Regions from separate parts of the Homo sapiens genome. Here region 2 is linked to region 1. Evidence: promoter capture Hi-C in human tissues and cell types (Jung and others, 2019). All regions are on one chromosome and are shown on one strand. The core of a region is centred on a gene start or on the middle of the fragment in contact, and the rest is flanking DNA. Distances in the headings are between cores, read along the strand shown. Region 1 holds the start of S100A12 (S100 calcium binding protein A12). Region 2 has its middle 7.2 kb from the start of PGLYRP3.

Region 1 (7,623 bases), core at 302-2,801:
CATTAACTCATTAGCCAACACTGTGTTGGAGAATCCAGTGTAACAAAACAGAGAACACAATGGTCATGAACCACCCTGGAATTAACAAGGCTTGACCTGGAAGGTACTCTTCTGCTCACTCATTCAACCCCTCCCGTGCCCTGCCTCTCTCCATTTTACATATGAGGAAACAGACTCAGAGAGAGGAACTGAGTAGAGCCTTAAGTGAGTTATTGAGAGAGGGAAGCAAAGGACCTCTCCCACAGCAGCGGGGAGAGCATCCTTTGGGAGCTCAAACTGGGGCCAACCCCACCCCAGTCCTTGTCCCACCATCCTCTGCCAGGCCTTGCCACTCCCCTCAGTGCAGGGTCATGGGCAAGTTTGCAGTGAGAGGGGCATCACCTACCTTGATGGTGTTTGCAAGCTCCTTTGTAAGCAGCTGCTTCAGCTCACCCTTAGAGAGGGTGTCAAAATGCCCCTTCCGAACTGAGTATTGGTGGAAGATATTGACAATTCCCTCCAGATGCTCTTCAAGTTTTGTCATCTTCCCAGCCTAATGTTAACCTTCAAGGAAACAAGGGAAGTCTAGAGGCAGTTTCTCCCCCACCCCTCAACCTCCACTCTCCCCTCTCTTTCTGAATCAAGGGCCTAAAGAAAACATAACATCCTCCATATCTATTTTGTGGTCTCTGCTCTGTTTGATCCATGGTGAACTTCTCATGTGTGGATAGGATGGGGAGGAGAAAACATATAATACTGTCTAACGTCTAAAAAAATCAGCCTCAGTTGCCCATGTTCCATACCACCTCATCCACCGGGGTGCATAACTTGGAGGGTATTGCTTACTCAAGGTCCCTTGGGAAGGGTTCTGTGATTGGCCAGGCTGTTTGCTTTCCTCAGGTGATGGCACTATGGCCACATATCCCCCACAAATGGTCCATAACCCACCCCTGCTTAGCCATTCTTTTTTTGTTGTTGTTGTTTTGGGTTTTTTGTTTGTTTGTTTGTTTGTTTTTGAGACGGAGTCTCACTCTGCCGCCCAGGCTGGAGTGCAGTAGGGCGATCTCGGCTCACTGCAAGTTCTGCCTCCCGGGTTCACGCCATTCTCCTGCCCCAGCCTCCCGAGTAGCTGGGACTACAGGCACCCGCCACCACGCCCGGCTAATTTTTTGTATTTTTTTAGTAGAGACGGGGTTTCACCATGTTAGCCAGGATGGTCTCGATCTCCTCACCTCATGATCCGCCCGCCTCGGCCTCCCAAAGTGCTGGGATTACAGGCGTGAGCCACCGTACCCGGCCTGCTTAGCCATTCTTAAATCATGGGACTGAGTCTACATAGCACAACAAGAGCTGATCTACTTGGGTCCAAAATGCAATATCACCCCAGAGGTGCTCAGGCAAGTGGAGGGTTGTGGTTTCCAACACCTTGTGATTTCAAAGTGGTCACCTGCAGTCACTACCCTGTGGACCACCTAAGAACCCATCCAAGGAAAATGCACTTACCCCTCAATGCACAGGAATGTGGAGCTACAGCAAAAAGCCAGCAGTGGTGAAGGGCACTGAGCCAAGGAAGGTTTTATAATCAGTTCAGGCTTCATCTTAGCCCTTGGGTGAAGAAATCTCTGATTCATCTTGAGGCAATTTATGTAAAGTACTCTGTTGCTCAATAGAAGCTTCAAACCTGTGGCTTAGGCTGCCACAGGAGCAGCCCAGATTGTACCCAGACTGAATTTTGCCCTCCTGCTCAGCCTGAAACAAAATCACCCCCACTCCACCCACCCGCACAGGGGTGCCCTGAACCTTTTTTAGCCCTGAGCCAGGGCCCAGGTTTCAGGTTTAGCTCTACTCCACTGCTCCCTAATAAAAGACTAGGAGAACAAACTTTACAGCCTGAGTGTCTTGTTTTAACAGATGAGGTTACCAGCTCTTCAGTTTTGGCAAATGGAATATCAACTTAAAGATCTTTATGCAGCTAAGGAGATAGGTAGGGAGACCTCCTCCTAAGTCGTTCTGGGATGCAAAGTTCATCACTGGAGCAGAGGATCAGTTTTCAAAATAGATTCCAAGGTTTTCAAAAAAGGAGAGAGCAATGCTACTATGCCTCCCCTTTGCTTTCCCAACTTTCTAACTTGGCTGTTACAAAGACCTAGAAAGCTGGAGTAGGGTAATCATTGTGTGTGAAGAAAGTTCACCATGCCTAGGTTACTTTACCATGTTCATGAGTTCAGTAAGACAGAACATTCACACGAGTTTTAGTAAAGCAACTTTATTACTCACAGAGAGGCAGCAAGGGACAACAGATGCCCAGGATTCATGGAGAGGTGGTCCTTCAAGATTCAGAAACCTGCCCAAAATGGATTAAGTCTCATCTGTACATTCCCCATGTCGCACCAAAGCTAAGGGACATCCAAAAGCACTCTGCCCTTGGTTTATGCCTAGAGGTCAATAAGATTGCTGAGCAATCAAGGCCATGCCAGAACCTGTGCTGCCATCTACCCCACAACACAGATATCCCCCTTAGCAAAGCTAGTTCATTTCATGTGCCCACCGACCTCTCTGGATCTGGAGGCAAAAGTCTGTCTCTCCGATCCATGTGTCACCTTGACTGACACAATCTCAGTGCAACATTGTTAAGCCATTGACAGTATTTGTTTCACTAGGCCCAGGAGGACACCACCAGAGCAGGATGATCAGGCTTGTGTAAATCAATGACAATGACCAAGGTGAATCTCAATCATTTTAGGAGGTTTATTTGGCCAAAGTTAAGGATGCGTGCCCAGAGGTAGGTCTACGTCTTTCTCCAAAGATGATTTTGAGGGCTTCAATATTTGAAGGAGAAACAGTGGATATTGGGGGAAGAGGAAGAAATATTTTTTAAATGTGTCAGTAGATAAGAGACAAGTGATTGCATCCTTTTGAGTCTTTGATCAATCTTTCACTGAATACACAATTTTCATGTGGGAGCGGAGTAGAGGAAATAGTCACTTATGCCTTCATCTGGCTCAGTGAATCTGCATTTTTACATAAGATAACAAAAATAGGGGAGAGGAAGCAATCAGATATGGATTTGTCTTGGGTGAGCAGAGGGATGACTTTATGTTCTGCCCTTTGTCCCACACCTGTGAAGATAAGCTGTCAATTACACTGCCAGGGTGAAATTCAATAGAACTGTTTTAGGGTAAAGATCTTGAGGCTCACAAGGAATTTCCTTGTGGGCAAGTTGTGAGATTGGTGTATGGCTTTTTATCTTTGTAGCTATCTTATTTAGAAACCAACCTGGGTGGGGGCAGGCTTGCATGACCCATTTCCCAGCTTGACTTTTCCCTCTGGCTTAGTAAGTTTGGGATCCTGAGATGTTTTTTTTTTTTCACATCTGCCTGGAGAAGGGACTAGCCCAGGATCCCAGCCATCCAGGCAAGAGGTTGCTAAATGCGGATCACGAGGTCAGGAGATCGAGACCATCCTGGCTAAGATGGTGAAACCCCATCTCTACTAAAAATACAAAAAATTAGCCAGGCATGGTGGCAGGCACCTGTAGTCCCAGATACTCAGGAGGCTGAGGCAGGAGAATGGCGTGAACCCACAAGGCGGAGCTTGCAGTGAACCGAGATCGCGCCACTGCACTCCAGCCTGGGCAACAGAGTGAGACTCCCTCTCAAAAAAAAAAAATAGAAATCAAAAAAGCAGGAACACAGCCTCACATACAAATATTAACCTCCAATGTGAATGGCCTAAACACTGCACTTAAAACACATACCTTGGCAAATTCGATTTAAAAACAAGACCCATCCTTCTGCTGTCTTCAAGCACCTGTCTCATGTGTAATGACACCTGTAGATTCAAAGTAAAGGGATGGAGAAAGATCTATCATGCAAACAGAAAACAAAAAAGAGCAGAGGTTGCTATTCTTGAATCAGATCCGATAGACTGTAAGCCAACAACAGTAAAAAAGGATAAAGAAGGGCATTACATAGTGATAAAGGGTTCGATTTAACAAGAAAATTTAACCATCCTAAATAAATACACACCCAACACTGGAGCACCCAGATTTATAAAATAAGTACTTCTGCATCTAAGAAAAGATTTTGGCAGCCACACAATAATAGCAGGGGACAACACCCCACTGACATCAGTAGACAAATCATCAAGGCAGAAAACTAACAAAGAAATTATGGACTTAAATTTGACACTTGACCAATTAGACTTAATAGACATCTATAGAACAATGCACCCAACAACCACAGAATATATATTATTTTCATCTGCACATGGAACATACTCTAAGATCAACCACATGCTCAGTCATAAGGCAAATCTCAATAAATTCAAAAAAATCAAAATCATACCAAGAATCTTGGACCGCAGTGGAATAAAAATAGAAATCAATACCAAGAGGAACTCTCAAAACCACACAAATAAATGGAAACTAAACAACTTGTTCCTGACTTTTGGTTAAACAACAAAATTAAGGCAGAAATCAAAAAATTCTTTGAAACATACAAAAATAGAGACACAACACAACATATCAAAACATCTGGAATGTAGCAAAAGTAGTGTTAAGAGGGAATTTTTTTTTTCATCTTGGATGTGGGCGAATCTCATTTTAATTGCAAAAGACTTCATTCACAGCACATTCAATAATGGACCAACAGGAGAGTTGCTGGCTTTTGAACATATGAATATATAAAAATACCTTGCAACTTAGGTAGTCAAGATAATAAGTGCATAAAAGGAAAGCAATCCTCATTTTTCTGAAAACTTTTACATTTTAAAAGGTGACTAGGCATACTTGGAAGTTCAAAGCTGTAGAATGTACCTTGCAGGGGAAGAAGGAGGAAAATCCTTTCCATGTTTTTAGGTAAATATATAACAAATATATCCCAATTCCACTTGATAAAGTCAGTTGCATGACTTCCTTGAACCAGGCTAGGGCAGAACACTCAGTAAAAGCAGGCCCTGGGTGGGGATGTGAATCCTGAAGAGGAGCACCAGATCCCACGCAGCACTAAACACATCAGTTTTACCCTCTAACATAGATGAGGCACGCCGCCCCATGACCCTGGACAGGGGATGCAGGAGAACAGACATCAGGTGGTTACTGCTCCCACTGCCTGGTGCTTTCCAATGGTTTTAAGTCAGGCCATGGAGAAAATCCTTTACCACCAAACACAAACTGCCATTGAACTTGTCATAAAGGATGTTATGGGGGAAATTCTTGAAACACATACATAAGGACTTCTATTTACCTAATTAGAAAAATGATTACAGAATTGGCATTCCTGTTTTCGTAAGATTTTGTTCTCTACATTGGAAAGGTTTAAGAAAAGTTGTCTATTTTTGGTTTTATTTTACACTTTCAAAAGAGAGGGAACAGAGAGAAACGTATGACTAACTGCCCAACTTTGGGGTCCCACAGGTATGAAAGCAGACTTCTCTGACTCTAGGTCCATCTAGATTTGGGGGAAGTTTACATTCCTAGGGAGGGTTAGTGAAGCCTGTTACACCCCCAATCCTACAGAAAGTATTCTACAGCCAATCTATCACAGTGTTCTAACAAAGCATATGTTGAGGAAAACTACAGGTTTCAACCTAACATCTAAATCTTAAAAAGTAGCACTTCGGCAACAAACAAGCGCAGAGAGCTCACCTGAAAAGTGAAATAACATGACTATTGCTCAGATATCTGAAAAGTCAAGCTGCTGCCCCCAGCTCCGCCCACTCAAAGGCTTAGGCAGACACCTAGGGTGGCGGCGGCTCCTTGGCAGCACCTAGGGTGGCGGCGGCTCCTTGGCAGCACCATTCACAGTGGTATCATCATACCGGGGTAGGAGCACCTTAGTGTCATTGCTGGTAACATAAACCAGGACATCGGAGGAGTTCCTGCCGTTCATCTATCTGCAGCAGTTCCAAACACAGCTAATCAAGTAACCCTTAAAAGTTAAGATAATGCTAATAAACAGAAGAATAATAAGGACCAAACAGGTGGATTCACTGACATGACATCATCTCTGTAGGGAAAATTAGGAGGCAGTTGTCGTATGTATTCCTGAATGGAGTTTGGATAAACAAGCACAGTGATTGCAACCAAGGTGTTCAGAGCAAAATCAAAGATCTGGTAACAGGGCCAGGTGCGGTGGCTCACGCTTGTAATCCCAGCACTTTGGGAGGCCGAAGGGGGTGGATCAGGAGGTCAGGAGATGGAGACCACGGTGAAACCCCGTCTCTACTAAAAATACAAAAAATTAGCCGGGCGTGGTGGCTGGCGCCTGTAGTCCCAGTTACTCGGAGAGGCTGAGGCAGGAGAATGGCGTGAACCCGGGAGGTGGAGCTTGCAATGAACTGAGATCGCACCACTGCACTCCAGCCCGGGCGACAGAGCGAGACTCCGTCTCGGAAAAAAAAAAAAATCTGGTAACAGAAGAATGGGATGATCCAGAATGCGTGTTGCCTGTATGCTTCGTAATTAGCCTTAATTACGTAATTAGCCTTAATTCTCATGATATCAGTATCATGAGAAGAGAAATCGCAATGGCAATGCACGTATTGGCGTCATCCATGAACTCAAAATCACCTCCCAGTTCAGAACTTGAAAAGTGATACTGATCCGGATCAGCCAGGGCACTCAACAAAATCAGGAGTACCACGGCGTTGATGATCAGGTACCAGACACCTAACAGGATGGTGCTGGTGCGGACATGGAGGCACAGGCAGCAGCTGTTGGAGTAGAACCGCATCCAGGGTGCGACCAGGGCGTGACCATCGTCATTGCTCCTGGAGCAGAGGCGCGAGGACGAGCCCAAGTTTCCAGGAGCGTTGACCTCCTCGCCCAGACTCCGCCACGCGGCTGCTGCAGACTCCTCGGCTGCTCCGGCTTCCGGCCCGCTCACCGGTGTGCCCGCCAGCCTCGCTCCTCTATCCTCCCAAGAGGGAATTTTATAGCGCTAAATGCCTATATCAAGCGGGGTGGGAGGAGGGGGGAGAGATAGCATTAGGAGATATACCTAATGTAAATGACGAGTTAATGGGTGCAGCACACCAACATGGCACATGTATACATATGTAACAAACCTGCACATTGTGCACATGTACCCTAGAACTTAAAGTATAATAAAAAATATATATATATAAAGAAGATATTAATAGAAAGATCTCAAATTAACAACCCAACCTCCACCTAAAGTAATTAGAAAAACAAGAACAACTAAGCTCAAAGCTAGCAGAAGAAAAGAAGTAACTAAAATAAGAGCAGAACTAAGTGAATTGAGACCCAAAAAGCCATACAAAGGATCAGTGAAAGGAAAACTTGCTTTTTTGAAAGGATAAACAAGATTGATAGACCATTAGCTAGATTAACAAAGAAAACGAGAGAAGATCGAAATAAACACAATCAGAAATGACAAAGGTGACATTACAACCGATTCCACAGAAATACAAGAGATCCTCAGAGATATGAACCTCTCTATGAGTACAAACTAGAAAATCTAGAGGAAATCAATACATTCCTGGAAACACAACCTCCCAAGACTGAGTCAAGAAGAAATAGAATTTCTGAACAGACCAATAACAAGTAATGAAAATAAATCAGTAATAAAACACCTACCAACAATAGCAACAACAAAAAACCCTGTATCAGACGGATTCATA
Region 2 (7,623 bases), core at 2,487-4,986, 56 kb before region 1:
GGGCATCCTTGTCTTGTGCTGGTTTTCAAGGGGAATGCTTCCAGCTTTTGCCCATTCAGTATGATATTGGCTGTGGGCTTGTCATAAGCAGCTCTTATTATTTTGAGATACGTTCCATCAATACCTAGTTTATTGAGAGTTTTTAGCATGAAGGGCTGTTGAATTTTGTCGAAGGCCTTTTCTGCGTCTATTGAGATAATCATGTGGTTTTTGTCATTGGTTCTGTTTACGTGATGGATTACATTTATTGATTTGCATATGTTGAACCAGCCTGGCATCCCAGGGATGAAGCCGACTTCGTTGTGGTGGATAAGCTTTTTGATGTGCTGCTGGATTCGGCTTGCCAGTATTTCATTGAGGATTTTCGCATTGATGTTCATCAAAGACATTGGCCTAAAATTCTCTTTTTTGTTGTGTCTCTGCCAGACATTGATGTCAGGATGGTGCTGGCCTCATAGAATGAGTTATGGAGGATTCCCTCTTTTTCTATTGATTGGAATAGTTTCAGAAGGAATGGTACCAGCTCCTCTTTGTACCTCTGGTAGAATTTGGCTGTGAATCTGTCTGGTTCTGGACTTTTTTTGGTTGGTAGGCTATTAATTATTGCCTCAATTTCAGAACCTGTTATTGGTCTATTCAGAGATTCAATTTTTTCCTGGTTTAGTCTTGGGAGGGTGTATGTGTCCAGGAATTTATCCATTTCTTCTAGATTTTCTAATTTATTTGCGTAGAGGTGTTTGTAGTATTCTCTGATGGTAGTTTGTATTTCTGTGGGATCGGTGGGGATATCCCCTTTATTATTTTTTAGTGCACCTATTTGATTCTTCTCTCTTTTCTTCTTTGTCTTGCTAGCAGTCTATCAATTTTGTTGATCTTTTCAAAAAACCAGTTCCTGGATTCATTGATTTTTTGAAGGGTTTTTTGTGTCCCTATCTCCTTCAGTTCTGCTCTGATCTTAGTTATTCTTGTCTTCTGCTAGCTTTTAAATGTGTTTGCTCTTGCTTCTCTAGTTCTTTTAATTATGATGTTAGGGTGTCGATTTTAGATCTTTCCTGCTTTCTCTTGTGGTCATTTAGTGCTATAAATTTCCCTCTGCACACTGCTTTAAATGTGTCCCAGACATTCTGGTACATTGTGTCTTTGTTCTCATTGGTTTCAAAGAACATCTTTATTTCTGCCTTCATTTCGTTGTTGACCCAGTAGTCATTCAGGAGCAGGTTGTTCGGTTTGCATGTAGTTGTGTGGTTTTGAGTGAGTTTTTTAATCCTGAGTTCTAGTTTGATTGCACTGTGGTCTGAGAGACAGTTTGTTGTGATTTCTGTTCTTTTGCATTTGCTGAAGAGTGTTTTCCTTCCAATTATGTGGTCAATTTTAGAATAAGTGCATTGTGATGCTGAGAAGAATGTATATTCTGTTGCAACATTTGGGGTGGAGAGCTCTGTAGATGCCTATTAGGTCCACTTGGTGCAGAGCTGAGTTCAATTCCTGGATATCCTTGTTAATTTTCTGTCTCAATGATCTGTCTAATATTGACAGTGGGGTGTTAAAGTCTCCCATTATTATTGTGTGGGAGTCTAAGTCTCTTTGTAGGTCTCTAAGGACTTGCTTTATGAATCTGGGTGCTCCTGTATTGGGTGCACAGATATTTAGTATAGTTAGCTCTTCTTGTTGAATTGATCCCTTTACCATTATGTAATGGCCTTCTTTGTCTCTTTTGATCTTTGTTCATTTAAAGTCTGTTTTATCAGAGATGAGGATTGCAACTCCTGCTTCTTTTTTGCTTTCCATTTGCTTAGTAGATCTTCCTCCGTCCCTTTATTTTGAGCCTATGTGTGTCTTTGCATGTGAGATCGTTCTCCTGAATATAGCACATTGATGGGTCTTGACTCTTTATCCAATTTCCTAGTCTGTGTCTTTTAATTGGGGCATTTAGCCCATTTACATTTAAGGTTAATATTGTTATGTGTGAATTTGATCCTGTCATTATGATGCTAGCTTGTTGTTTTGCACGTTAGTTGATGCAAACAACTAACGTTTATGCATGATGACATTATGATGACGTTTCTTCATAACGTCAATGGTCTTTACAATTTGGCATGCTTTTGCCGTGGCTGGTACCAGTTGTTCCTTTCCACGTTTAGTGCTTCCTTCAGGAGCTCTTGTAAGGCAGGCCTGGTGGTGACAAAATCACTCAGTATTTGCTTGTCTGTAAAGGATTTTATTTCTCCTTCATTTATGAAGCTTAGTTTGGTTGGATATGAAATTCTGGGTTGAAAATTCTTTAAGAATGTTGAATATTGGCCCCCACTCTCTTCTGACTTGTAGAGTTTCTGCCGAGAGATCTGCTGTTAGTCTGATGGGCTTCCCTTTGTGGGACCTTTCTCTCTGGCTGCCCTTAACATTTTTTTCTTCATTTCAGCCTTGGTGAATCTGATGATTATGTGTCTTAGGGTGGCTCTTCTAGAGGAATATCTTTGTGGCATTCTCTGTATTTCCTGAATTTGAATGTTGGCCTGCCTTGTTAGGTTGGGGAAGTTCTCTTGGATAATATCCTGAAGAGTGTTTTCTAACTTGGTTCCATTCTCCCTGTCACTTTCAGGTACACCAATCAAACGTAGATTTGGTCTTTTCACATAGTCCCATATTCCTTGGAGGCTTTGTTCATTTCTTTTCACTCTTTTTTCTCTAATCTTGTCTTCTTACTTTATTTCATTAATTTGATCTTCAATCACTGATATCCTTTCTTCCCTTGATCAAATCGGCTATTGAAGCTTTTGTATGCTTCATGAAGTTCTCATGCTGTGTTTTTCAGCTCCATCAGGTCATTTATGTTCTTCTCTACACTGGTTATTCTAGTTAGCCATTCCCCTAACCTTTTTTCAAGGTTTTCAACTTGCTTGCGATGGGTTAGAACATGCTTCTTTAGCTCGGAGAAGTTTGTTATTACCCACCTTCTGAAGCCTACTTCTGTCAACTCATCAAACTCATTCTCCATCCAGTTTTGTTCCCTTGCTGGTGAGGAGTTGTGGTCCTTTGGAGAAGAAATCTTCTGATTTTTGGAATTTTCAGCCTTTCTGCTCTGGTTTCTCCCCATCTTTGTGGTTTTATCTACCTTTGGTCTTTGATGTTGGTGACCTACAGATGGGGTTTTGGTGTGGATGTCCTTTTTGTTGATGTTGATGCTATTCCTTTCTGTTTGTTAGTCTTCCTTCTAACAGTCAGGCCCCTCAGCTGCAGGTCTGTTGGAGTTTGCTGGAGGTCCAGACGCTGATTGCCTAGGCATCACCAGCAGAGGCTGCAGAACAGCAAATATTGCTTCCTGATCCTTCCTCTGGAAGTTTCATCCCAGAGGGGCACCAACAAGATGCCAGCCAGAGCTCTCCTGTATGAGGTGTCTCTCTGTCCCTACTGGGAGGTGTCTCCCAGTCAGGCTACACAGGGGTCAGGGACCCACTTAAGGAGGCAGTCTGTCCATTATCAGAGCACAAATGCCATACTGGGAGAACCACTGTTCTCTTCAGAGCTGTCAGGCAGGGACGTTTAAGTCTGGAGAAGCTTTGCCCACAGCTGCCCCTTTCCCCAGGTGCTCTGTCCCAGGGAGATGAGGGTTTTATCTATAAGTCCCTGGCTGGGGCTGCTGCCTTTTGTTCAGATATGCACTGCCCACAGAGGTGGAATCTAGAGAGGCAGTCAGCCTTGCTGAGCTGCAGTGGGCTCTGACCAGTTCAAGCTTCCCGGCAGCTTTATTTACACTATGAGCATAAAATCGCCTACTCAAGCCTCAGCAATGGTGGATGCCCCTCCCCCCAGCAAGCTCCAGCATTCCAGGTCAATTTCAGTCTGCTGCTCTAGCAGTGAGAATTTCAAGCCAATGGATATTAGCTTGCTGGGCTCCATGGGCGTGGGACCCACCGAGCCAGGCACCAGAGGAAATCTCCTGGTCTGCCAGTTGCAAAGACCATGGCAAAAGTGCAGTATTTGGGCAGGAGTGTACCGTTCTTCCTGGTACAGTCTCTCACAGCTTCCCTTGGCTGGAAAAGGGAAATTCCCTGACTCCTTGCACTTCCCAGGTGAGGTGATGCCCCACCCTGCTTCAGCTCACCCTCCATGGACTGCACCCACGGTCCAACCAGTCTTGATGAGATGAACCAATAAACCAGGTACCTCAGTTGGAAATGCAGAAATCACCCATCTTCTGCGTCAATCTCACTGGGAGCTACAGACCGAAGCTGTTCCTATTCGGCCATCTTGAAAGAGCACTCTCTTGGCATACTCAATATGTTTAGTTGCCTTACTTTCTTTTCTTTCTTTTTTCTTTTTTTGTTGAGATAGGGTCTTGCTTTGTCACCCAGGCTGTGATGAAGTGGTGCAATCTTGGCTCACTGCACCCTCGACCTCCCAGCCTTCTGTGCACCCACCTCAGCTTCCCAAATAGCTGAGATTCCAGGTGCACCACTACACCTGGCTGATTTTTGAATTTGTGTAGAGATGGAGTTTCACCATATTGCCCAGGCTGGTCTTGAACTCCTGAGCTCAAAAGATCCACCTGCCTTGGCCTCCCAGAGTGCTGGGATTATAGGTGTGAGCCACTGTGCCCAACCTAGTTGTCTTACTTCCTGAAGAGAAATGATCCTGCTTGAAAGAGTAACCTGTCATGTTGTGAGAAGGCCTATGAAGGGGGCCCCAGAGTGGATCTGAGAGATGCCTCTGGGAGCTAAGAATGATTCCAGGCCAGCATCTAACAAGAAAACAGGGGCCTCAGTCACACAGCCATAAGGAAATGAATGATGCCAACAAACTGAATGAGCTTGGGAGCAGATTTTTCCTCAGTCAAGCCTCCAGATGAGAATGCAGCCCTTCAGACCTTAACTTAGCCCTGTAAGGACTTTAGCAGAGGACCTACATAAGTCGTGCCCAGATTTCTGACCCATGGAAACTATGAAATAATAAATGTTGTTGTTTTAAGCTGCTAAGTTTGTGGCCATTTGTTATGCAGCAATAGAAAACAAATACAGTATCTAAGATAATCAGGTAGCCTCCTGGCCATATAAGAGCATGTCAACAGCTTAGAATGGAATCTTTGATGTATCTTTCTCATAACCATACAAAGACACAAGAAGAATTAATATGTTAAAATCCTACACCTTTAGCAAAATTAGCAGATTAAAAAAATCCAATTTTAGTTACAAAGGATGAATATGTTTGGGAGATCCGTAGTACCGCAAGGTGATCATAGTTAATACTAATATATTGTATACTTGAAAATTGCTAAGAGTAGATCTTAAATCTTCTCACCACAAAAAAAAACAAGTATGCATGGTGATAGATATGTTAATTAGCTTGATTTAACCATTTCACAATGTATACATGTACCAAAACATCATGTAGTGTGCTGTAAATATATATAATTTAAGAAGACAAAAATGGCCACAAACTTTTTGGTATATGAAAGTAAGTGTGGAGAGGGGAGAGAGCAAGTCAGGAAACTAATACTAGAAGCCATAACAATGAATGGTGAGGTAGTGGAATGGTGAGTGCTATGAGGAAACGTGGAGATGGAAAAAGAGACCATTATAATCTGGAATCCACAGCAGATATTCATCACCAGAATGTGAGGGACCACCTAGAGGGGCACTGCTCTGGACAGTTCTAAGAATGAAAAGGGTATTGCATGAGAACTGGTGGAGATCAACAGAAATGACTGGGAGTGCAAGGAGAACAAATGTAGTATCACAATATATCCAATAAACTACCAATTGAGTGCAACAGATGGAGGAGCCAATGAGCTGAGAAACAGGAGAAGCTATATTAATTTTCTCCCACCTCCAAACACAACTGTCACAGGATACTCCTGTAGCAACTGGACCAGAAAAAACCAACTCATTCAAATACGAATAATAAAAAGGCAAACTGTCACATCCAAACAAAGCCTCCATTTAAACATATGGCATAAGATCATATTTTATTAACAAAAAACTCATCATTAAAAAAGGTTCCAATAGGCAGAGGGAAAACATATTTCAACATAATTTTCCTAATTGTCTACCTATAAAAAAATTCACAAAACAGAAGTAAAAGGCCTCAAAGAAGAATTTAACTCGGCAATAGGAGGATGTGAAAGAGAAGTGACATAATCATCTCAGGAATTAAGACTAAAATACAAGGAGTACAAAGGGGAGCATGTGCCCCAGAAAACACATGTCAGGTGTCTAGAGAAAAGAAATTTAAAAGTCCAAAGAAACTAAAATTTTTTAAAAAGACAGAGAAAAAAAAGAATTAGAGAGAGTTTGTACACAATATGATGCACTTATTATCTCAGAACTGTACACTTAATACTTATGATGTTAAACTGTATGTGTATTTCACCACAATAAAAAATTGGAGGAAAAAAGAATTAAAGCAAAAGTGATCAATGTAGAAGACAGGCAAAGGAGATCCAACATACATATAATTCACGTACCAAAAGAAGAAAACCAATGTAAAAGAGTAAATACCTTAAACAATAATTCAAGAAAAAATGTTTTGAAATCAAAGATACAACTCTACATATTGAAAGGCCACACTTTTACCTGTGAGAATTAACTTGCAATAGTAATTGCTAAACCATGTTATGGTACTTAAAATATGAAGAAATAAACTTTTTAGTCAGTCATGTGAAGAGACCAAGCCATTTATAAGAGAAAAAATTAGATTGCCATCAGGCTTCTCAACAACAACATTCACACACAGATTGTGAAGAAGAACCTACAAGAGACTCATCAAAGAAAAGATAGCATGAGCCAAGGATTTTATGTCCAGCCAATCTGTCCTTCAAAGTATAAAGGCTACAGATAAAAACTGTTTTGAATATGTAGTAACTAGGTAAATCTTTTTGCTCCATGAGCCCTGCTATGGTTTGAATGTGTTCCCCAGAATCTATGTGTTGGAAATGTAATTCCCAATGTGATAATTCTGAAAGGTAGGGCCTAATGGGGGGTGTTTAAGTCATGAGAGCTCATGCCTATCTGCCTTCCACTATGTGAGGATGTAACAGAAAGGCCTTCACCAGGTGCTTGTGCCATAGTCTCAGACTTGCCAGCCTCCAGAACGGTAAGCCAATAAATTCCTGTTTATTATAAATTACCCAGTGTCAGGTATACTGTTATAGCAGCACAAAATGGACTAAGGCAAGCTCTTTATTAAGTACTTTACTAGAGAATAATCTTTATCCAGTCAACAAGTTATTGGAGAAATTTCGGCCAAAAAAACTAAAAACTTGTGGTGAGCATCAAATATGTTTAACTGTAGAACTAGGGCTAAAACAAGTCTGAAGGACACAAAAGTAGATCCAACAAGTGAATGGGCATTTTTAATAAATATTATTGAAACAAGTAGATAGTCATATGGAAAGAAATAAATTTTTTATCCATACCATACACAACACAAAAATAAACTCTAAATGAATCAAAAAATACATACAAAAATTAAAACATTGAATTACTTGAGAAAACATGAATTAATTTTATTATAACATGGGAGTGGTAGGCCTTTCTAAATATGACTCAGAAGTCATAAAATATGATAAATTGGCTACTTAAAGTAAAAAACTCTTGCATACTCCAAAAACTAAAAATGTATCATAAG

What was found. Contacts are between HindIII fragments. The study calls those that stand out against the background at their distance.
Region 2: a contact is called between a fragment that was not itself captured here and the fragment with the promoter of S100A12 in region 1, in 6 of the 25 tissues and cell types used here (H1 embryonic stem cells, aorta, heart left ventricle and 3 more).

Annotation. Positions count from the first base shown.
Region 1 is chr1:153,374,070-153,381,692 of GRCh38, forward strand. S100A12 (S100 calcium binding protein A12) reads right to left here and starts at 1,552. Exons shown (of 3, transcript NM_005621.2): 1 at 1,483-1,552; 2 at 386-543. The coding sequence starts at 523. It also overlaps the pseudogene LAPTM4BP1. RefSeq lists a silencer at 6,315-6,485. The HindIII fragment of the contact is 10,940 bases long and covers 1-5,442 here.
Region 2 is chr1:153,316,316-153,323,938 of GRCh38, forward strand. No RefSeq gene overlaps it. Among named protein-coding and RNA genes, the nearest start is that of PGLYRP3, 7.2 kb to the left of the region's middle. The HindIII fragment of the contact is 4,919 bases long and covers 1,278-6,196 here.